Regions from separate parts of the Homo sapiens genome. Here regions 2 and 3 are each linked to region 1. The links are contacts of gene promoters, found by promoter capture Hi-C in blood cells and fetal thymus (Javierre and others, 2016). All regions are on one chromosome and are shown on one strand. The core of a region is centred on a gene start or on the middle of the fragment in contact, and the rest is flanking DNA. Distances in the headings are between cores, read along the strand shown.

Evidence for each region. Contacts are between HindIII fragments. The CHiCAGO score rates a contact against its expected background, and 5 or more counts as called.
Region 2: a contact is called between a fragment that was not itself captured here and the fragment with the promoter of DCLRE1A in region 1, in 1 of 17 cell types (naive B cells). The highest score is 5.5, in naive B cells.
Region 3: a contact is called between a fragment that was not itself captured here and the fragment with the promoter of DCLRE1A in region 1, in 1 of 17 cell types (monocytes). The highest score is 7.8, in monocytes.

Annotation. Positions count from the first base shown.
Region 1 is chr10:113,852,586-113,855,846 of GRCh38, reverse strand. It overlaps DCLRE1A (DNA cross-link repair 1A), which reads left to right and starts at 1,765. Exons shown (of 9, transcript NM_014881.5): 1 at 1,765-3,124. The coding sequence starts at 2,665. NHLRC2 (NHL repeat containing 2) reads right to left here and starts at 1,186. Exons shown (of 11, transcript NM_198514.4): 1 at 797-1,186. The coding sequence starts at 974. RefSeq lists an enhancer at 2-706 and a silencer at 717-1,076. The HindIII fragment of the contact is 6,407 bases long and covers 1-3,261 here.
Region 2 is chr10:114,145,024-114,148,284 of GRCh38, reverse strand. CCDC186 (coiled-coil domain containing 186) reads left to right here. Exons shown (of 16, transcript NM_018017.4): 5 at 2,524-2,736. Among named protein-coding and RNA genes, the nearest start is that of MIR2110, 28 kb to the left of the region's middle. The HindIII fragment of the contact is 320 bases long and covers 1,450-1,769 here.
Region 3 is chr10:114,117,594-114,120,854 of GRCh38, reverse strand. No RefSeq gene overlaps it. Among named protein-coding and RNA genes, the nearest start is that of MIR2110, 55 kb to the left of the region's middle. The HindIII fragment of the contact is 5,049 bases long and covers 1-3,261 here.

The sequences.
Region 1 (3,261 bases), core at 516-3,015:
CCTCAAGTGTTTAGGTATCCCCTCAAGTGTTTAGGACTGTGTGTGGCAGGCCGGGCGCGGTGGCTCACGCCTGTAATCCCAGCACTTTGGGAAACGGAGGCGGGAGGATCACTTGAAATCAGGAGGTCGAGACCAGCCTGGCCAACATAGTGAAACGCCGTCTCTACTAAAAATACAAACAAAACAAAACAAAACAAAACAAAACAAAACAACTAGCCAGGCGTGGTGGCGCGGGCCTGTAGTCCCAGCTACTCCGGAGGCTGAGGCAGGTGAATCGCCTGAACCTGGGAGGCGGAGGTTGCAGTGAGCCAAGATCACGCCACTGTACTCCAGCCTGGGAGACAGAGCGAGACTCCGTATCAAAAAAAAACAAAAAAAAACCCTGTGTGTGATACATGAAAAAGTGATCAATAAATGTCAAGATGATGCAGAAAGATGACCAGAAGACACTGGGGAACCAGATTGAATGGACAGAATGGTGTGGACGTTGCAATCATTGCCACCGGGGACACTAAATATTCACGGAGTGTCCACTTGGCTAATATCAGGCGCGGGCGGAACTCAGGATACACAGACGAGTATGTGGATCCCCGTGCCAGGGAAACCCCCGTCGGTGGCCGCTTGGGGACCCCTGGGAATTGCAGAACACGCGAACAGCGGCCCAAGTTAGGCGAAGGGCCACTCCCCGGGGCGCCAGCGGCACAAACCCGCCTAGCCCACCGCTTCGCGGGAGGGCGCCGTCCCCGAGGAAGGGGAGGTGCCGGGAGGGGCCCCCACCCCGACGCCAGCCCCTCACCTTCCGGAAACTCGGGTACTGACAAGTCCTGCTCCCAGCCGTCCACCTTCTGCAGATACTGGTAGACCAGGCTGTCCTTCTCCTGCTGGGTAACGGCGTCGAGCAGGGCGTACTCTAGCGAGGTCTGCGCGGGGAGCAGGCCGGAGAGGCTGCGGCCCCGGCCTCCGGGCGCCGCCATGTTTCCGCCGGGCTCCCGATGCGGCCGCCGGGCCCGCGGGAGAGTCTCGCTGGGAGAGACGAAACGTTCACTGTCCTGTGGTTTCCAAACGGCGCATTCACCTCACCCTCCACTAGCCCCACTCCACGCCAATGACACTTTTTTCTTTTTAAAGCATAGGTCCAAGTGCCAAAAGTCCAAATCGGCGCAGTTCCCGGGGACGTAATTAAACTGCCGTCCGACCCACCCCGCCCCTTTTCGGTCCCCACGCCGCAGCCGAGCCTGGACATTGAGAGCGTCAGATTCAACATGGAATAAGGCCTTAGGGACAGCGTCCCAGAGGCGCTAAGGGAAACATCCCCAACCCTCCACATTGGGAATTAGCGGACTTTCGAACACAAATAAAATACAATAAATCCGTAGGACTTAAAAGGGCAATGTATTTTTAAAAATTATTTTTAAAGTCTCTCTCTTTGAACAGCATCCGCCGATTCGACACGGCACTGGCAGCGGGAACTTGTTCCCGCCAAGACCCTAAAGGTAAAGCGGGTAGGGATAACCTCCAGAGAGAAGGCTTTGTAAACTGGAAGTGACTGGCGCGAGTGGCTTTCACTTATACACAAACACAGCGTTTTGTCATCTGGGAGTGCTGAAAGTGCGGGCGCGAACACATTTTTAGATGGGGGTGCCGGGAGGAGCGGATGCAGCTGGAGCGGCTCCCTTGGGGTGCCGAGTGGCAGGTGGGGGGCGGTGAGGGTCCTTGAGGGCGGGCCTTAGAGTCTTCAGAAGGGCAGGACTCTGAGGGCTTTTTGGAGCTCGCTATGCTTAACCTGGAGATGATTAAGGCCCCGCTTCCTGGCCTCCCAGCCTCTAATGCCAAAAGATAAGGGAGAGGCTGGCGTGTGACCCCGTTTTGAGTCAGGTGGACAGAGGGCTGGCCACCTTCGGAACCATGGGTGCAATACGGAGTCAGACCTCAATACAAGCCCACTCTTTCACATATTTGAACTTTTTTCACATATCAACTTTTTTTGTTCACTGTGCAGGGATTGTTCATTGCTGCTGGAGGAAGATCATGGACTGTCGCGGGAAACTGAAGTGGTTGAGTATCCACTAGTCGTGGATGAGGGCAGTGACTTCGCAGTTTTTTGCGAATTACACATCTCTTTGATTATGTTGTGACTAGTTTTGTTAGATAGTCATTTAGTGTTTGGGATACCTGTTAAGCCCTTTGTCCAGGGACTGTGGTTGGATTTATGAATTATTTGGACGGTTGTCCACTTGAAAGAACTGACAGTAGCTTCATAACAATGTTACAAATCTCGTTCTAAGATTAAGCTGTTGAACCTATATTTGCCATTAGCGCTTAATTTTTGAAGTATTATTTTTATGAATCAAGCCCTGGAAAAGGACAAGATATTTGAATGAAATAGCACCCATAATGGAGAACTTCACAGTTGCTACTCCTGTGATAGGTTTATCTTAGTTTCATTGTGGTATAAATGGAATAGCAGGTGTTGTCAGGTACAAGGTTTGTAGCTTGCCAATATGTTCATTACCAACACTGCAGATTCCCATTGAGTTGGTGGGGGTTTTGTTACCTTTGTTTTTTTTCTCAGCAAAATAATTCTATAACTTTTTGTTTGTGACAAGAAATGGACTTTCAGTTTACTTAAGATTAATACTTCTTGAATGATAAAATCATTTTGCCATGTTAGAAGACATTTCCGAAGAAGACATTTGGGAATACAAATCTAAAAGAAAACCAAAACGAGTTGATCCAAATAATGGCTCTAAAAATATTCTAAAATCTGTTGAAAAAGCAACAGATGGAAAATACCAGTCAAAACGGAGTAGAAACAGAAAAAGAGCCGCAGAAGCTAAAGAGGTGAAGGACCATGAAGTGCCCCTTGGAAATGCAGGTTGTCAGACTTCTGTTGCTTCTAGTCAGAATTCAAGTTGTGGAGATGGTATTCAGCAGACCCAAGACAAGGAAACTACTCCAGGAAAACTCTGTAGAACTCAAAAAAGCCAACACGTGTCCCCAAAGATACGTCCAGTTTATGATGGATACTGTCCAAATTGCCAGATGCCTTTTTCCTCATTGATAGGGCAGACACCTCGATGGCATGTTTTTGAATGTTTGGATTCTCCACCACGCTCTGAAACAGGTAAGACTGCAGAAAACGTAGTAGTTTCTAAATAATCTAAAAAGTCTTCATTAGGTCAGACATACCAATTCAGTGAAACAAGGAAGGCAAGCAGTAACCTAAAAGAGAGATGAGACACTGGGAAACACCATACCAGT
Region 2 (3,261 bases), core at 360-2,859, 290 kb before region 1:
GGGGCAGGATCCAGGAGTGTGAACTTTTAACAAGCACCCCAGGTTATTCCTTTGCAGTTGATCTATGGATGACCCCATGAGTAACAGAGCCGTTATCTGGTGCGCCATTCCCTGCTATAGTGAAGACTCTCATAATATTTTCCGTTTATTTTTTTTGAGACAGGGTCTGTTGCCCAGGCTGGAGTGCAATGGTGCAATCATGGCTAACTGCAGCCTCAACCTCCTGGGCTCAAGAGACCTCCCACCTTAGCCCTCCCAAATAGCTGGGACTACAGGTGCACACCACCATGCCCAGCTAATTTTGTTTTTTGTTTTTTTTGTAGATAGGGGATTTTGCCATGTTGTCCAGGCTGGTCTCAAACTCCTGGGCTCAGGCGATCTGCTCACCTCAGTCTCCCAAAGTGCTGGGATTACAGGCATGACTCCTTGCATCCAGCCAAGACCCTCATAATATTTCACCTTGTCTATTACAACTGTCTTTTTTTGATTATTTTCTACCCCCTATCTCTCAACTTCAGTGAAGCTCCCATGCTGCTACCAGTTATCTTACTAAAACACACATTTTAATAAGAGCTTCTGATTTATAAATTCTTCTTTGGCTTTATGTTGACTATGGAATAAAACCTCAACTTATTACCATGACAGAAATTCTTCTTCCTTTGAGGATCTAATCTATACCTCTTTTTGTTTTTATAACTACTTTCTTCCCACTCCAGCCAACACACCAAATTTAAGCCCAATAAAATAACTTGATATCTCCTAAATGTGTCATGCTGTTTTATACTTTTAGGTGTTTGCACATGATATTCACTCTATTTTTAATTCCTTTCCTTGATTCACCCCTTACATTCTATAGAATTCTGCTTAGCCTTTAATACCTAGCTCAAGTATAGCATCTTTTACCCTTCCTGCCAACTCCTCCCAGGGGATGTAAGTATTTTCATGTTTTGAAGGACTTTGTACATTCATTTACTATAATTTTTCATATTATAATGTTTGTTTATATGCCTTTCTCACTAGATGGTGAGCTCTTTCAGAGGCCACAACTGCTACTTTGTTTCCAATAGATGATACATTATCTGAATATTAAATTATTATGAAACCAGACTTCTCTTAAAGTTGACATTGAGCTATTGACTTTTTCTAAGTACAGATATTCAGTTGTCTAAAAATCTAATTCTGTTGGCCAAGTCCAGCATAACTTTCTCAGTCTTTGTCTACAAGCACATTGTTACAACCTCGGGGCCTATCATATCCCTAATGCAATGTCTTTCTTAATTTGAAAATTAGTATGACTATTTCAATGGAAACAAATCCCAATTGGGAGATTTTTAAAATTACTTATATGTGTATGTATAGCATTCTCAGTGTTGACTAGATGTGCTTATCAGCAGTGCCAGAATTTTATGAAACATTTTTGCAGCCATTTTTCATCAAAGCATAGAAGCTTTCCCTACATTCTGCTCACTTTATTTTAATAGTTACCTTCTTCAATTCAGTTGCATCATCAGTGTTTATTTACCACTAAAAGATATTGAAAATTCCTAAAGTTTGAAGTTCTATCTTTTGTAAATTAAATGTGTGCTTCACCATATTTGCAAACCATGAGTTACTTCAAAGAAGGACTATTTGTAGAAGTTTTCATTCTGTGAAATTTCAGAATATGGAGTACCAGTTCATACTAATAGAAAATTTTTAAATGAGTATATAGTTTTCATACTTAATCCAGTTAGGTATTTCTTATTAAGTGTAAAATGCTTCAGAAAGCTTTACATAAATAGGAAATTAAATGGTCATTTGTTAGCATATGGCTACTTAATTTTCGAAAGGGAGTTAAGATTTTAGAAATTGTCGGCTATACAGTCAGGGTCCTGGCAGAAAACAGATGGCACACTTAAACCGGTGATGAAGATAATTTAATAAAAAGATTCTTTGTCAAGGTGTGGACAAGATGTAGGGATCCCAAAAAGGGAAGATGCAGAATTTCAGGGCTGCTGGACAAGGAGCAGGTATTACACCCCAGAGGGTAGTTGTATAGAGAGGGCACCTGACAAGGGGAGTGGCCATCAGCCAACCTGTGGGAACTCTGGAGGAGCCAGATCTCACTCTGCCTACGTTCCCAAGCTTCTGCCTACTGCCTTCTGTTGGGTGAACCCAACTGGAAGTTTGAGGGCAAGAGAGCTTATTGATAGGGTTCATGATGTCATCATGTTCCTGGGACACCAGTTGGGATTTAAAAAAAGTGGGAAAGGGGATCTGGAGGAGTACGTGGAAAATAGCAACCATATTAGCCGAAGTAAAAGGAACAGGAAAGGGTAAAGGCAAATGCTAGGGATATTGTACCATTTTTCTATAATTTTAAATTTTTTCTTTCATTTTAAAATTTCATGGCACAAGTCCTGGGAATGTTGTGCAAAAACCAAACAATGCATTGGTAATATAAGAGACAAATACCATGTATTTCAATACATTTCCATTTGAAACATTATTTTTCATTAATGCTAAGTAATATTTTTTTTGAAGGCCAACAAGAAATGTGAAGAGGCACGCCAAGAAAAAGAAGCAATGGTAATGAAATATGTAAGAGGTGAGAAGGAATCTTTAGATCTTCGAAAGGAAAAAGAGACACTTGAGAAAAAACTTAGAGATGCAAATAAGGAACTTGAGAAAAACACTAACAAAATTAAGCAGCTTTCTCAGGAGAAAGGACGGTTGCACCAGCTGTATGAAACTAAGGTATAACTTGTGCCATTTGAAATATGTTGACCTTATTTGAAATTTGTTCTCTTTGCTTTTCCATATTTAATCAAATAATCATAATTTAACATGGTTAACACTCAAACGTAAAGTTGTTTTTATTAGTTTACCTTCTAAAACCATGAATTTTTTAGTAATTCAAGTGTTCTATTACTTGTCTGCAGAGAAAAGGTTTGCTAGGGAAAAAATAAGTGTTGGCACATGTTGTTTATTAGATAACTTTTTCTTGAGCTTTCTAAAAACTTTCTTTTAAAATCTGTATGTTGGAGAAATTTGCATCTCAAGGGAAGATTATATTTTGGTAAAATATGTATATAGTAGTGTAAAATGAATAGTTTTAGAACCAGAAGTATAATTTGATATAATCTTAATATAACACATCACCATAGAAGAAAATTTATGTTTTTCTTACAGAAAAACATGTCTTTCTTAGATACTATCTAAAGAGATTTAGTTACTGAGCCAGCTATTCAGAACCCTTCCTGTTAACTAGCAGCCTCTCAA
Region 3 (3,261 bases), core at 240-2,739, 270 kb before region 1:
TTTGATGGCATCTTTATTTGTTTATATGCACCATTTGCTAAACAGACTGATTCTTCAGACTGTTGGCAAGACTGATTCAAATAGCTTCAATTTCCTTTTTTTAACTAGACTGGGAATTTTTGCTTTCTATAGTTGTCTTTATTCTATCAATATGATTGGAAGTCAGTGAACAATAGTAAGCAGATTAAGTTGAATGCTGGGTTGTATTTTAAATTTTTGTTTAAATTATTGACAGCAAAACTTAGCCTGTGTATTAATTGGTTTTCACACTGCTGTAAAGAACTGCCCCAGACTGGGTAATTATAAAGGAAAGAGGTTTAATTGATTCACAGTTCTGCGTTGCTGGGGAGGCCTCAGGAAACTTACAATCATGGTGGAAGAGGAAACAGGCATATCTTACATGGTGGCAGGTGAGAGAGAGAAGAGGGAGGAAGAACTTGCAGACACTTATAAAACCATCAGATCTTGTGAGAACTTACTACCACGAGAACAGCATGGGGGAAACTGTCCCCATGATTCAGTCACCTCCCACCATGTCCCTCCCTCGACACATGGGGATTATGGGGATTGCAATTCAAGATGAGATTTGAGTGGGGACACAGAGCCAGACCATATCAGCCTTTTACAAAAGGTTCTGTGGCCTATAGGTATGTGAAAATTTCTTATTTGATAAGCCAGTGATGTATTCAGATTTTCCATAAAATTATAGAACTCACTTGCCATGTAGTCTAGCTTCAGTAATAAAGAACTAAGTATTTTCAATAAGAAGACACTGAAAGCATTAATTCAATTAAGTGAATATGTGTGGGATGAAATATTTCACATCACAAGGCATTGGTTTCCATTGCTCTAACAGTTCTGGTACACTTAAATTATGCCATATAACTTAATGAGTTCTCTATTGGAAAGAATCTCCTGAAATCAAGATCTGCAGAGTAAGTGTAAAATTAGTAAAGAAAGTTTTCCAACATACTTAACAGTCTGCTTTCAGTAGCCTGTGGATTTGTTCGCAAGAGAAAGGAAGATATAGGGAAAGAGGGTAAATCAAGGAAAGATACTAGCCGTGGTTCTTGATTTAGGTCCACGTAGCAGGAGAGTAGTGACTTGAGGTGATAATTATGAGCAGAGGCTTTTAGTGGCTCCTTTATATTCAATTAACTATGTCAAAGTACCATTCACGTGGTCAGTATGACCTGCAGTCATGAGATGGGAAGGCCATTCTGATGAACTTATATCCAAGTCTGTTTTTTCTTAATAAAATCAGCTTAAGTTAATGAATGCAGAATGAGTACCTGCTCCTTCAGGAGCAGCAACTCAGGAGCGTTCCTCTGTGATTAACTGATACTAATGCTGAGTTTTAATGACTGTCTGAGAATAGTGTGACCAGACTTGATGTTTCTGCCCCGTAGAGATGCTCTGTTATTAATTTCTAACTTACACTTTTTTAAAAAAGTACACTTTTTAAAATTAAAATTTGGCAGTAGTCTGACAATAAAAAAGACTGCTTATGGGATACTGTTATGTTAAACTTCAGTTACAGGATGTTAAATCCTTAGAACTAACTTTTCCCCAGAAAAACGTTAATGGAAACATCAATTGCTTTTTAGACTTGATAGTTATTGCTTCAAAAGGTGAATTTACACAAATACCAAATTAAAAAAAACAAAACTTTAGTACCTAATGAACTGCATTTATTTCTGTATGCATCCACATTTCAGCATGTAGCGGTCCTGAACAGAAAGTGGAAAAACGAAGCAATTTGCCAGAAGGTCAAGCCCACCAATTTCAGGGGTCTGCTGTGCACACCAAGGTCTCAATCCCTGCTGAGGATCTTCAGAAGCAACCGCAATGCCAAAACCAGAATATGCACTGGATTCAAGATTTTGTTCCAATTGTCATATTTTAAACTAGACCCCAATGAATTGGAAGGATGACCAAATGACAGCCCTGTTTAAAACTTCAATTTCTAAAAGCAAAATCAATTACAGAAAAAAATATTACAGAGGGATTATGTGTGCTTATGAGTGTCTTCATGTGGTCTTTCTCCAAGTTTAACCACCAAGGACTTTGAGAGCTGGCAGGTCTGAGTAACCCTGGAGACAATTCACTTTATCAAAACCTGAGCTAAAAACAACGCATCAGCTGATGATGACCGCAGAGAGTGGCAGGACTGAGGACCCAATATTTGTTTTCCAGCCTGGTGGAGAGTGAATAGTGAGGTTCCAAAACTAAACAAGGGAGGTCAGGAAAACTTTCCAACCTTACCTAATGGCTTCTGGCCAAAGCAAGGAAGTGTCATGGAAAGTGTTGGGTGGTGATGGTGCAAAAGGAACTTGAGGAGGAGGGAAGAAAAAGCACCCCTCAAAGCTGGGGAAGAGAAAATATGGAGAAAGCCCTAAATTCCTCATTGAAGGCCAGTCTCGGAAGTGGAGGGGTTATGATCTGTGCTTCAGTCAAAGGTAGGAGTGGAAGAGCATGGGGACAGGATGATGGCTTGGAAGGGGCATCATTTAAGACTTAAACCAGGGGTGCAGGCAAAGCACCCCATGTACCCAGCAGGCTGCCGCCTGAAGCCTTCACATCTACGTATGTTCAATAAGAAGATACTAAAATGGCATTTAATCAAGTTAGCATGCGTGATGGAATATTTCACATCACAAGGCATTGGTTTCCATTGCTCTAACAGTTCTGGTACACTTAAATTATGCCGTGTAACTTAATGAGTTAACTATTGGAAAGAATCCCCTGAAATCAAGATCTGTAGAGTAAGTGTAAAATTAGTAAAGAAACCTTTCCAATGTAATAATCTGCTTTCAGTAGACTGTGGATTTGTTTGCAAGAGAAAGGAAGATTTAGGGCAAGAGGGTAACAAGCACCCCAGAGTAGAGGGCTGTTGCAGGGAGGGTACGAGCTGGGGGGAGGGGCAAGGAGAGAAGGCAGAGAGCCCAGGCCATGTAATCAACAGAAAGGTGATTGTGTGATGTGTCTTTTCACAGTTAGATGTGCCCCACCAGTTATGATGGGAGTCAATTTAAATATACTTTCTTGATCCCAGAATTTCAACTACGTGGACAGTGGTTACACTTGACAGGATAACTTATTATAGCACAATTTACATATTTCAAATGGACAAAAAATTAGTATCATTTAGTATCTTAAGATAAATTTCCTTTGAATGGGAGCTTCTTTTCCAGTACTTTGAGGTCTTCAAGACATATCTAGAAAATTTACTGTGGAAAATGAAGACTCCTTAAATTGAAT